Regions from separate parts of the Homo sapiens genome. Here region 2 is linked to region 1. Evidence: promoter capture Hi-C in 16 types of primary human blood cells and fetal thymus (Javierre and others, 2016). All regions are on one chromosome and are shown on one strand. The core of a region is centred on a gene start or on the middle of the fragment in contact, and the rest is flanking DNA. Distances in the headings are between cores, read along the strand shown. Region 1 holds the start of SLC7A11 (solute carrier family 7 member 11). Region 2 holds the start of SCOC-AS1 (SCOC antisense RNA 1).

Region 1 (7,030 bases), core at 3,152-5,651:
TCTCAATTTTGGTCGGGCTGGTCTCAAACTCCCGACCTCAGGTGATCTGCTTGCCTTGGCCTCCCAAAGTGTTGGGATTACAGGCGTGAGCCACTGCGCCCGGCCCAGAATATACTTTTTAAAATGAGGTGCTATAATTTATATTTGTGTACTTTAGATCAAATTAACTATAAGCTAAATTTTTAACATTTAACGATACAATTCACATAAAATTGGACAAATATGCAACTCCCCAAAACCTCAGTTTCACTCTCTGTGAAATGGAGATCTCAGCTTCTACCTCATAAAGGAGTTGTGTGTATAAATGTGGCAGCGGGTACCTAGTACAGTACATGGCCTGACACATGGCAAGCACCACATGAAATATAGCTATACTTATTAATTTGAGTAATTAACAAGAAAATTTAAAAAAATCCTGTCATTATGTGAAAAGTTCTATCTGTACTGCCAAGTGCTCAAATGTAAGAACACAATTTTTTTCCAATCTACTTCTGAGAATAAAAGTGTAGAAAAGTACTACTGATTAGTAATAATTTAGACAGAACTGCTCAATATAAATATAATTTGGATATTCAGTGAAATCTTAGTGTTACATATTTTATATCTGATTTCTAAACTTATCATGACATCAAAGTCACCTAGGAATAATTTTTTTTTTTTTTTAATTTTTGAGATAGGGTATCACTCTGGCACCTAGGCTGGAGTGCAGTGGCACAATCTTGCCTCACTGCAGCCTCTGCCTCCTGAGCTCAAGTGATCCTTCCACGTCAGCCTCCCAAGTAGCTGGGACCACAGGTACACACCACCATGCCCAGCTAAATTTTTGTGTATTTTTTGTAGAGGCAGGGTTTTGCCATGTTGCCCAGGCTGGTCTGGAACTCCTGGGCTCAAGGGGTCTGTCTGCCTCAGCCTCCCAATGTGCTGAGATTATAGGCATGAGCCACCATGCTCAGTCTGGGAATAATTTTTAATTCGAAAACACTCAAACCAAAAACAGACTCTAATCAAGAGAGTATAGATTGTCCACAAGAGAAATTCAAGAATCTCTATCATTTTAAAATTTGTACAAATAATTCTAAAGTAACGAGTCTGCAGACTAATATTTGGGGAACACTGATGTATTTCATCTACCTATAACTAATTTTAACTAGTTGCAACTCACTCTCCATGGGGAAACATTCGCCATGTTGGTAGGCTGTCCAGAAAAGGATCCAATATAAAATGTTATTGGGAAGAGTCTTAAGTACCTCAGAATTTATTGTCAGAGAATCAATACCTAGACCTCTATATGCTTTACTGAAACTCCAGGATGGTTGCCCTAGGTTTAAACTGAGTTCTGGGGGAATGATTTTCATTTAAAGGTCTCAAGCTTCATAACCATTTTGCCCAGATGAAAAAAGTTCAAAACAAGATGTAAAAATCCATGTATTGACCCTTCACTTAAAAAAAAAGTATATATATGTATTAAACCAAATGTACAGATTCTTTACAGTTGGTCCCAAAGTTCTAGAGTCTTTTTAAAAAGAAGGATTATTTTTTCTTCAGATTTTGCTTTGCTTGCTGTTACAGAGGCACTCCTGTCCAAAAGCTTCTGGTAACTTAAGTGACAAATGCAATGCAAATAAAGATAAGTAGATTAATACAAGAGCACACTCCCTGCAATTACTAATCAAAGAATACCAACTCAAGTGTAATGTTAGCTAGTCTCCTTAGCTGTTTCTCTCTTTTTATTTTTTTTTGAGCTTTTGCTTCAGATGATATGTAATACTTATGCATAAGCATATTTTCATAGTGCAAGTCAACACACTTTAACTAGTTCAATACTCATACTGATCTATTTTATTACATCTGAATAATCTTTTATTATGTGCAAAAATTGAATCACATAGTGGAAGCTGCATGCACATAAGTACGCAAAGTCCAGTAAACTGGTTGTGGTTTTTCTGATTAGATATTGATTTATTCTGAATATATAAAGTGCTGTAGGAAGATTTAAAGGCTGAGGGTGCACAAAATCATTTAAGATGATCAACAATTAGGTTTCTCTTTTTCTATAAGTGCATATACCAGAGCTATTTTAATATTAATAGTGGCTAAGGGTACTATTAGAGTTTTTCATAATGATATTACTCCAAATTATTTTATAAAGATGGGAAGTAATACTGGGAAATAATGATACACAATTGTTACTGAATATTTAATAAAGCACAAGTTAGTTATAAATAATACCACAAACTCTCTCTAAAAACCCCAAATAATTCCTCTATAAATCTTTCTATACTACTTGTTTTAACAAGTTCTATTTAAAATAACTTCTTCCTAAAAATGGAATTTGAGGACCGGGCGCGGTGGCTCATATCTGTAATCCCAGCACTTTGGGAGACTGAGGTGGGTGGATCACGAGGTCAGGAGATCGAGACCATCCTGGCTAACATGGTGAAACCCCATCTCTACTAAAAAATACGAAAAATAAGCCCAACGTGGTGGCACACACCTGTAGTCCCAGCTACTCGGGAGGCTTAGGCAGGAGAATTGCTTGAACTTGGGAGGCGGAGGTTGCAGTGAGCCGAGATCACACCACTGCACTCCAGCCTGGGCAAAGAGCGAGTCTCTGTCTCAAAAAAAAAAAAAAAATGGAATTTGAGTTCTCTAGATGAGTGTCAAACCAATGATTTAAAACATCACAAGGCCTGAGTAGAAAGAATGAATTGATTGGTACACATGGGAACAGGAGTTAGTACTTGTTAATTAGTCCTAGAGTTAGCGTTAGTACTTGTTAGTTAGTGTTAGTCCCAGAGTTAAGACAAAGAGCAACTTTAAAGTACAGAATCTTTCCCAAGAAGAGTAAATAAATCCTCATAGCATAAATCAAATTTAATGTTTGACAGTTCACCAGTTTTTATCATCTTTACAACAAACTCAGGTAGCTCTCTAGTAATTTGCCTACTCCATAAGGGGGCATTTATTTACCTCTTTACTATTAATTCTCAGATCAATAGAAGAGACATAAACTTTGAAGAAAAATTCATAATTATACTTCTGCCAGTTCCCTTCAGATTAATTTAGTGAACAGGTGGACAAATTCTCTGTGTCCCTGGAGAACAAGTGAAATATAATGAAAAAAACAGATCTGGGCAAGTACAGAAAACTAACGCCCAACTGAAGTTTTAAAACTTATATTGCAAAAGTGTATGGGTATTGAGAAGAGATGAAAGGTTGAAAAGTAATTTGAAATATGCTCAGGCCATTGCAATATACCCCATTATGATAGGGATTGAGTTATGCGCCATCATACATCTCTCCCATGTCAAGGACTTTTGAAAGGATATTAAGAGGTGACAAGCACATGAACTTAAAAAATATTTTTATAAAGACTGCCACCCATTTGTTTGGCTAATAAAAAGTCAGTAAGACTTCTGCTGAACACTCCGTTCTATGTCTAAATAGCCCATGCCAGGTTCCACTTCACAGGTGTCTCATTCAGCATGCCAGCTGCCAGAATGCCCAAGCTAAGTGTACAACTGCCCGGCACAGAAAGTGTGCATGTTTTTTACTGGGTCATGAAAGTTAGCCTTTGCTCTCATCACCACAGAGAAAAGTCAGAAGATAGCCTGTCTTAGTCAGGAAAAGAAAGTACAGCCTGTAGGAAGCAATTTGAGGGTGTTCCAGATCACACCAACAGCGGATGCTGCATCTGGGTAGTTCACGTACCCGAACAAAAATTTTAAAAATTTGGTGTGGCCTTTGCCATCCATTCACTCCTCAAAAACTACCATTTGCTTTCCCAGAAAGCAAGCTTTCCAGCCCCACAGCCACGCCCCCACGAGAGAAAAAGTCGCACTCACCAAATAGTGACAGGACCCCACACACCGTCCAGATGGTCAGAGACATGCCCACGCTGCCCGTGTTCTGGAGCACGCCCTTAGGAGAGATGAAGATTCCTGCTCCAATGATGGTGCCAATGATAATGGAGACTCCCCTCAGTAAAGTGACTTTCCTCTTCAGCTGCACTTTCTCCTGCCCAGGTGGCTCCTTGTTGCCCAGGGAAGGCAGCCTCCCGTTAACATTTCCCTGCAGGTAACCTCCTTTGGAGATGGTGGACACAACAGGCTTTCTGACCATAGTAGGGACACACGGGGGAAAAATAAAACAGAGGGAAAGAAAACAAAACTTTCAACTTTGGTGTCTCTTGGTGTTACTGATCGATGTCTTCCTCTGCTTTCAGACTGTCTCTCTCAGCGCTATAGTGTTCACAGGTGAAAACTCAAAGGTGTGCTTTTTCCTTCACAGCGATCTAATTACTACTCAGAAACACCTGTGTATGCATCGTGCTCTCAATTCTCCACCTCCTCGTTCCACCACTGCTGCTGCTGCTGCTGCTGCCGCCCTATCATTACAAACCAGCTCAGCTTCCTCATGGGCTTGTATTTAAGCGCCTGCCTGTCACACCAACTTACTACAGCTAAATGATGATGCAAATTCTCCAGGTTTGCATCAGCCACATGAGAAGCCTCCAGCATTACTCAGCTCTTTTTTTTAAAAAAAGAAAAAAACAGGAGGAGCTTGTTGCTCAACTGACCTAAGCTTTTTAGAGAACAAAGCACACACTTTAAAGAGATTTTAGCCAATCCAGAAGTAGTAAATTCGGAACAGACCTTCCCAGAGATTTAAAGCAACTCGTAGTGAGCAACAAAAGCTGTTCAAACAAAATGAAACAGGAAATAGTTACTTCATTTTAAGGAGTTTCTTTTTCTTTAATGCGTGTATAAAAACATTTTACATGCGACTGTTTTGTGAGTAGAATGTATCCTAAAGCTACATTGTTTATAACAACACAGTTTGAATTTCATAATTTGTGTAATGCTTTTTATTTTTTTATTTTGAGTTTTTTATAAGGCAATACAGTCAAATCCAATATTTACAAAATTAAAGATTCTACACTTTATACTTCTGTCACATACACACAACTATAAGCCTTCCTCAACATTAAAAGATAAAATTATTTCTTACTACTCATAATAAACCAGTATTTTAAATCACCATCCGAGTGTGACTAATACAAAATTCACCATGACTCCAGAAAATAGTCATTTTCTGATTCTCATTAGCACTAGGTGATTTTTTTGAACTATGTAAAAGATACATATCCTTCATTGTCATGTTGTTCCTTTGAATTACCAAAAAAAATTTCTAAGTTCAAAATTACACAATTACAATTACATAAAAATATGTATATAGCAAAAGCCTGTAAAGGAAAACAGAATGGTAGTTATAGAAAGTAATGATATTATGTATGACTTTTTTCCACATTATATAAACTATTGTTATTATTATAAATTTAAAATGCATTAAAAATGTAAGCTAAATTAAAATATTTACTTTGCAATAGTCAAAAAGGCAAAACATTTTTAAACCCTTCTAACTTTCTCAACCAAGTGTCAAGAAAAAACAAATATGAAAAGAAAAGAAATCCTAGATATCATTTTTGGCTATAGTTACATGTGGTTTTGGATTCAGTGAGAAGAATTGAATGTTATCATTACCCTGAAGCTACCTTTATACGCACCATTAAATAAGCTTCTGAACCTTTGAACAAAAACCACAAACAAAAAGCCTGTGTGCGAGAGGTTGGCAGGGAAAGAAGGGAGTCAAGTATGGTGAGGATGATCAAAGAAAGAAATGAGAAATCGCCATTAGGAAAGTAGCATGGAAAAGGTCAGAACCATTTTCTGTTATGTTGACACCTGAGAAAATGACACCACCTCAATGCTTTGCCATCCAAATAATTGAGGCTACATTTTCTCCTTTTTAAATTATCTATCTAAATTCTATATAATTGGTTTCAGCTACACCAAGTTAAAGTTTTTATAAAACCAAAATAAATACTTTTTCTCAGTTGTTAATGTCTTTCAAAAAACAAAAATGGATCATTTTCCTCATGCAATCCTGCTAAAACTCCCAAAGAAGGAAGCTAAATAGAGATTCTTTTCTTTCCAATTCTCTTCCTCCTCCTACATCTCCTTTCACTCACACAATTTTCCTGATTAATGGACCTAAGGAGCAGCTCTTCTTTCCCAGTAAGAGAAACATATTAGCTCTGAAGAAATATGAGGTAAAAGTAGGACACTAGGAATCTCAGGGAACAGCAACTTTCTCTAATTAACACAGTGTCACACTTTAATTTTAAATTTTGTTATAAATAACTGAACTCATAAGTTGAGCCAAAGACCCCACTCAGATAGGAAACTGAATGAATTATAAAGGACGATTATTCTTTCAATATTAAATAACATTTTCCTCCTCACAGTATTTTTTTTTTAATTATGAAGAAAAATGGCTGATGTTAGACTAAAAACCAAAAGGATTGTACTTTCATGTAAGATAGAGGCCACCACTCAGAATGTTTGCAAAGCTGCACATTGCTGCTAAGGGCACCAGTGTACCTCTTCTAAGCACCCCAAAATCTGTAGAAAATGCAGTTTATAAAGAAAATGTTGAATTGCCTTGAACTCTTAAAATTGCCAGTTCTAAGCTTGTAAACTAAGAGTTTGGATGGTCCTCAAATACTTGTGTATCATAAAAATGTGTTCAAAGCAAATGAATACATATTTTTCATCCTGTATTAGGCCTTATTTTAAGTATAGCTGTCAAATTATGAGACTATCCTAGTGCTATTCGCAAATACTTATTTACTGCTTATTGTGCACAAGAAATAGTCCTAGCTTCCTCACAGCATCTCGTAATAGAAATAGAAATAATGTATACTGGTAGCTACCGTTTTCTAGTAACAATTTCTGTCCCATGGTTATAAATACAGGCATATCATCTAGGCCTGGCCAAAAATAATCCAGTGCTCTGGCTGCAGAGTATTGGAATATTACCTGAGCTGGGATATTTCTAAACAGAATTAGAATCAGCTTTTTTCATCTGTTGTTGGAGATTGTAAAGATGTGATCTGACAACAACTGGTGGCCATGTTCCCTGGCGTGTTGCAAATATCCTCACAGAATAACAGAGAATGTGCAGAAAT
Region 2 (7,030 bases), core at 2,520-5,019, 2.1 Mb after region 1:
GCTCTTCAGAGAATTACTTTATGCTTGTTAAAAACAGAATCTCCTTTAGTGACCCAGACACATATGATTAATCTTGATTTTAAAGCCAGATTATTTTTTTTTTGAGATGGAGTCTTGCTGTGTTGCCCAGGCTGGAGTGCAGTGGCGTGATCTTAGCTAACTGCAGCCTCTGCCTCCCAGGTTCAGGCAGTTCTCCTGCCTCAGCCTCCCGAGTAGCTGGGACTACAGGTGTGTGCTGCCATGCCTGGCTAATTTTTGTATTTTTAGTAGAGACGGGGTTTCACCATGTTGGCCAGAATGGTCTTGATCTCCTGACCTCATGATCCACCTGCCTCAGCCTCCCAAAGTTCTGGGATTACAGATGTGAGCCACTGTGCCCAGTCTAAAGCCAGATTATTTTTATAAAATTTTAGTGAGCAAGTACCCAGCTGACATGATTGAAAATGTAGATTCGTGTTTAGAGAATCACAGAATCACAAAATCACAAAAGCTGGAATGAGGTGGCTCAATGACAACTCACTCAGAAAATATGCTTTGAGAACCTGTGGCAGGCAGGGTGCCAAAAGCTGGATGGTCAGACACAATCTTACCAGCAAAGATTGACTCTTAAATATAGGGAACCATTCACTTAACTCACTGGTAGTGTTGTTTGATAAAGTTCTTAATGTTATTTTACACCATGTTAAGAAGCTAAATGAACTCTCTTCCAAGCCCTCACTTGAGGAAACAGGGGTGGACAGGAAAGTGACTAACTCCCTGCAGTCTCATGGTTAATTTCAAATATTTGAATGCTGTACAGTATCTAGCTCACGATATAGTCACAAAACTAAACTTTTAAATGAGCAAAGAATGGAATGAATTCAATCTAGGCTGAGCCAGAACAAGAACCCAGGTTTCTTCTTCTTCAAACCAATGCTTGTCACGTTGTTGGTAGATCAGAGTTTTCTGAACCAATCATATACCTACATCATAATTTTTGCCACATTAAATTAACCATTTAATTAAAATCAGTTTTGAACTTAGCTTTATTCTAAGCAACATGTTAACATCTGTGAATTGAGAATTTCTTGTATTATTCGTATTTATTATAATAAAATAAACATGTAATTATTTTTAAAAATTCATCTTGTACAACCAGAGGTATAAATACCAATTCTGGGGGAAATGCTAATTTGAAAATACTATCTAGAGAAAAATAAGGACTGTAAACCAAAAAGTATCTCAGACAGGTCTCATTCAATTTAGAAGTTGATTTTGCCAAGGTTAAGGACATACCTGGAAGAAAAGAACACAGAATCACAGAAACAGTCTCTGGTCTGTTCCTTTATCCAAGGATGACTTTGAGAGCTTCAGTATTTAAAGGGGAAAAGTGGGTTGGAGAGGTAAGAGCGAGGGTATAGTAATCTAAGTTGCAGGAGAAAAGGCGCAGGTAGGGGAATGGTGAATGATGCATTCATCTTGTGTGCAGCAAATCAGCACTTTACATGAAATAGGGTGAACATAGAGTAGCTACCTATGGAGATATTTAACCTTTTATCTGTAGCTATCTGCTTAGGAACAGAAGAAAAGGCAGCTTCTTGCATGACTCAGCTTTCAGCTTATTTTTTTCCTTCTGGCAGAGTGAACTGGAGTCTCACGTTTTTATTCTCCTTTCACAGCACCGAGACTGCACAGAATCATTCCTAATTATTTCCATTTTTATGATAAAGTCCAAAGCTTGATTCCATAAAGACCTTGAAATCCTTTGGAATTCTTGCTTGAAAAAACTCTAAAAGTACATTGGTAATTTCTTACATTCCCTCTACCTATTGAACAAATAAATGAAAATGACTCATCAAATTTATTTACTTTTGGTTATTATCAGAAATTATAATCTTGAGAAAGTATACATGAACACCTTAATTTACCAAATAGCTATATGGTATACTGTTGAGTATAGTATACTAGGCTGTAGTATACAATTACGTCTAGTTTTGAAATCAAGTTTTAACAAATAGGTTATATTCTTTACTCACCAAATTCAGAACAGCATTCATTCTCCAATGAATTCAATAACCTTTCAAGTGAAAAAAATGAGTAAAAAAGAAAATGTGAGTTCTTATTTAGGAATGAGATGGAACATGTTCTGCAAATTAATGAGCTTAAAGCATCAGACAACACACCTGGTTATACTTGAAAGTTATCAAAAATGCTTCCATTTAGCATATTTCACCTTAAATATCCACAGTACGTTTAGAACCCTCTAATTAAGACAAAATAGCAGCTTGTATGTGCACAATGAGAGTGTGCCAGACTGGAACATCAAAAAGATATTGGAAGTTCTCTATTTCATTATTTATCATTTCTTCCCCCACATAATATATTGCCTTGTACAGTTTTCAATTAGGACTTCCCCCATTCTCTAGGAAAAAAAATGTAATTTTGTGCCTTTATTTAGATGAACTATATTATCAATATTCACATAGTCCAGGTCGCATGAATGTTCACCTTATAATCAAATATTTCTATGCAATCTCAGTGGTTTCTATTTGTACTTATAGCCTTTCCTTATTCAGAAGGGGGATTTTTTTTTTTTTTTTTTTTTTTTTTTTTTTTTTTTTTTAGATGGAGTTTCGCTCTTGTTGTCCAGGTTGGAGTGCAATGGCGCCATCTCAGCTCACTACAACCTCCACCTCCTGGGTTCAAGCAGTTCTCCTGCTTCAGCCTCCCAAGTCTGAAAGCTGAAAATAAGCTGAAAGCTGAGTCATGCAAGAGCTGCCTTTTTATGTTTACATTTTAGTTTAAAATTACTTTCTAATTTTTTTGTGTGTGACTTCCCCTGTGACCCATGGTTTGTTTAGAAGTACATAGTTTGATTTCCAACTATTTGGAGATTTACAAATATCTTTCTGTTACTGATTTCTAGTTTAATTTGTGGGTAGAGACAATAATTTTTACTGTTTCAATTATTTTAAATTTGCTGAGATTTGTTTGATGATACACAGTGGAGTCTATTTTGATGAATTTTCCAAGTGCATTGGAAAAGAAAGCATGTTCTTCAGTTATTGGGTGCAATGTTCTACAAATGTCCATTAGGTCAAGTTGGCTGATAGGATTGTTCAGGTCTTCTATATCAATAGTTCAGAAATTTGCCAGCCTTTTTTCAAAATCACCTTCGTAACTTTCAAAAATACTAATGCCTGTATCTCACTCCTTAAGACTGTAATTTATTCTGAGGTGTGGTCTGTTCACTAGAATAATTAAAAGATTCCCAGGTGATTCTAATATACTGAAAAGTTTGGGACCTGAGTTCTGTATACTTAAATTATCTGTATAGTTGTTTTACAAATTGCAGAGCAGGGAGTAATGAACTGTTTGAATTCAATTAATTTTTGATTCATTTCTATTTTGTAGCACTGTGGTTAGGATTTTGTGTCTTCTTGATGAATATGCCCCTTTATCTAATTGTTTTAATGTTATTTTACCTAATTATTAGTGAAGGTAAACATTTTTTAAAAACCTTTCTGGCCGTTCAGTTTTCCTCTTCTGTAAGTGGCCTACTTACGTTATTTGCATATATTTATCTTGAGTTGTCTTTTTCTTACTGATTTGTCTGAATTCTTTTTTTTTTTTTTGAGACGGAGTCTCACCCTGTCGCCCAGGCTGGAGTGCAGTGGCACCATGTCACTGCAAGCTCTGCCTCCTGGGTTCATGCCACTCTCCTGCCTCAGCCTCCCGAGTAGCTGGGACTACAGGCGCCCGCCACCACGCCCAGCTAATTTTTTGTATTTTTAGTAGAGACGGGGTTTCACCGTGTTAGCCAGGATGGTCTCAATCTCCTGACCTCGTGATCCACCCGCCTCGACCTCCCAAAGTGCTGGGATTACAGCCGTGAGCCACCGCGCCTGGCCTGAATTCTTTATATTTTGAGAGTTTTACTATATTCTGCCAACCTGTGGCTTGTTTTTTAACTTGATTAGAGATGGCTTCTCTTCTGTTTGTAAAACTTCCAAATTTTAAAATAATCAATATTTTACATCTTTCCTTAATGAATCGTGCTGTTTCTTCCCTACGGCGATATACAGACATACGCTTTTCTTCTAAAAGTTTAGAGTTTTGTTTGTCACATTTTGGATCATTATTTCATTTGGAATTTAGTTTTATTTCTGTCGTGGTATCAGGATTGAATTTCTTATTTTTATATAAATAGCCAATTTAACTAGAACCACCATAACTTGTGTTTTCTATATCCCACGAACAGTTACTATACTAATTTACACTCCCAACAGTAATGAATAATAGTTTTTTCCCCACAACCTTAGAAACAGTTATTCCTCACCAGACATCTTTATTGTATACCAACTTCCAGGTACCCTTTTTTTCCTAATTTTCTTTTTGTCTATTCTTGTGTCAATACCACTTTTTTAAAAGTTGCTTTAAAATAGAATTACCATATGATTCAGCACAAATTAACACACACTTCTGGGTGTATATCCAAAAGAACTGAAAAGAGGGTCTCAAAGAGACATTTGCACACCCATGTCCATAGCAGTATTATTCACAATAGCCAAAAGGAGGAAGCAACCTAAGCGTCCACTGATAGATGAATAAACAAAATGTGGCATAATACACATAATAAATGATATATAGAACTATTCAGCCTTAAAAAGGAAGTTCTGCAATATGCTATAACATGGATGAACTCTGAGGCATTATGCTAAATGAAATAAGCCAGTCATAAAAGGGCAAATTCTGTATTATTCCACTTAGGTGAGGTACCTAGAGTAGTCAAACTGATAAACACAAAGTAAGATGATTACTGCCAGAGGATGAGGGGAATAGGAAATGGAGAGTTGCTCTTTAATAGGTATACAGTTTTAGTTTGGCAAGATGAAAAGAGAGATTGGTTCTGGAGATTGGTTGGAGAACAATGTGGAATGTATCTTATACTACTGAAGTTAAAAATGGTTAAGATGGTAAATTTTATTCTATGTATATTTCACTACAATTAAAAATATTTAAAAATACTGTTCTAGCAAAAACAAAAGGTTGCTTTTAATAGTTTCTCTTGATCTTTGGTGTCCTGCAATTTCACCGTTGCATAGAATTCTTATATTAATCCTGCTCAAGAATAAGTACTTCTTGAATCTGAAAATTCAAATATTCCACAATCTTGGAAAATTCTTAGTTATTACTCTTTGAATACTGCCTGCATCCATTCTCTCTAGTCTCTCTTTTTTGGCACTCCTATTAGATTTATGTTGGATTTTTTTTCATTTATTTAGCTCCTACATTGCATTCTAGTAAATTTCCTCAAACTGAATATTGCAGTCGCAGCCAAATGCATAGTTCTCAAAACACTGAATAGAAGATATTTTTATATAGCTCTTAAAATGATTAAGGCGATGTGTCAGCAAACTGTGCCAGAAGTAAAAAGTCAAGAAACAGGGAGACATAAGGCTTGTCTCTACAGCTTAGGAGGCTGTGCCAAAGCCAAAATAATAATGTATTGCTGTGGATGTCTACCTTGTACTCAACGAATATTAAAGCAGGATGCCGCTTTGTGTCAAGTACTAGATTACGATGAACGGTGTCACGAAGAACACTCCACTCTTGATACCGTATATGTGACCTTGAGCAAGAAATGTGTTCACGCTCAGGCTTCAGTTCCTTTCTGTGGGTTGCTGTGAGGCTCCACAGGGGTAAGGTAAGCACAAGTGCTATGCCTCAGTACCACTAGGGTATTTTCTCAATTCTAAAATATTAAATGGCCACGCACTACAGATTTAATAATAGTTTCGGAGGAGGGGCGTGAGGAGAGGAACATTCCACTAGCTCAACTATAAGCTTTCCGATTTCGGAAATAAGAAAAATATGAAAAAGTCTGCTTTTAGAATTAAGGAACGACGGTGTCGCGTTGACTTTCTCTGCTTGGTTCGCAAACGCTCTTTTCTCGAACTTGAATGACTTCTCTGTCGCTCATACCAACCTCTTTCCTGAATGACTTCTCTGTCGCTCATACCAGCCTCTTTCCTGATTTTCCACACTGGGATTCTCACTCCAATTCTCAGGTTTCCTGATAGACCTGATGAGCCGCTTCACCAGCGCCGCTTAGCTTCGCTTCTTTACTGTCATTGGCTGTCGCTGTTCCAGGTCCCGCCCACAGCGACCTCAATCCTGATTGGATGTCAGTGTCCTTTTGTTATGGCAAAGGTGGATCCCGGTGCTTTGAGATTGGACGACTGGGGTGAGGCGGGCAGCTAATGCGCAGGCGTGTATTCTCGAGTCAGGATTGGCGGGCGAGCGGCTGGGACGGGATGGGATTCTTCTCACGGCGCACGTTCTGTGGGCGGAGTGGGCGGAGCTGCCGGGGTCAGTTGGTCCAAGTGTCCCGGCCTGAGGTGTCGGCCGGATCCCTCCTTCTCCCGGCGCCTCAAGCGGAAGGTGAGGGCCGTCCCGGGCAGCGGAGGGCCTGGCCCCAGGCGACTAGAGCTGCATCCTCAGTACCTCCGAGGGCCTGGAGGGCGGGGCGGGCTGGACGCGGCCCTGCGCACCGGGGGCCCGGGAGGAGCGGTCTCGGGCCTGGGCATTTGGTGGGCGGCGGAGGCCTGGCTCCCGGCAGAACCCTTGCGCGACCTCTTTTTCTCCTGTTTTCGTTGTCAGGCCCAGGCGTTCTTTGGGAGAGGGACCTCTCGCGGTCCCTGACGCAGACATCGTGTAGCTTTCTCCCCGCAGCTCCTGGGTCGGGAGCCGCTTTGCAGCTCTCGGCTCTGGAATTGGACTGCGGGAGGGGCGTTTGGGTGGAATGGGACCTGGCACGCCTGGACCTTCCCGTGGCTGCTCTGCGAGAGCCTGAGAGATGGGAGGGGAGGCTGAGGTGGGGAGGGAGCCTAGAGAGCCGTAAAATAAGGATTGGACCATTTTTCCAGGCGGCGAAAGCGGCACCTGGGTTTGTTTCCTGATCGTCTTCTCCCCCAGAGTCCTGCTGAACAAGTTTTGGGAAGAAAGGTTTGGAAAGGAGAAAGAGGATACATTCCTGAAAGGCAGGGCT

Evidence for each region. The method cuts DNA at HindIII sites, captures the fragments that hold promoters and counts their contacts. A CHiCAGO score of 5 or more calls a contact.
Region 2: a contact is called between a fragment that was not itself captured here and the fragment with the promoter of SLC7A11 in region 1, in 1 of 17 cell types (fetal thymus). The highest score is 5.4, in fetal thymus.

The regions. Positions count from the first base shown.
Region 1 is chr4:138,237,948-138,244,977 of GRCh38, forward strand. SLC7A11 (solute carrier family 7 member 11) reads right to left here and starts at 4,402. Exons shown (of 12, transcript NM_014331.4): 1 at 3,846-4,402. The coding sequence starts at 4,122. RefSeq lists enhancers at 3,748-4,947, 4,417-4,656. The HindIII fragment of the contact is 788 bases long and covers 3,795-4,582 here.
Region 2 is chr4:140,367,295-140,374,324 of GRCh38, forward strand. SCOC-AS1 (SCOC antisense RNA 1) reads right to left here and starts at 6,098. Exons shown (of 5, transcript NR_033939.1): 1 at 5,969-6,098; 2 at 2,016-2,056. SCOC (short coiled-coil protein) reads left to right here and starts at 6,352. Exons shown (of 4, transcript NM_001153484.2): 1 at 6,352-6,423. RefSeq lists enhancers at 6,035-6,536, 6,232-6,281 and a silencer at 6,442-6,641. The HindIII fragment of the contact is 4,110 bases long and covers 1,715-5,824 here.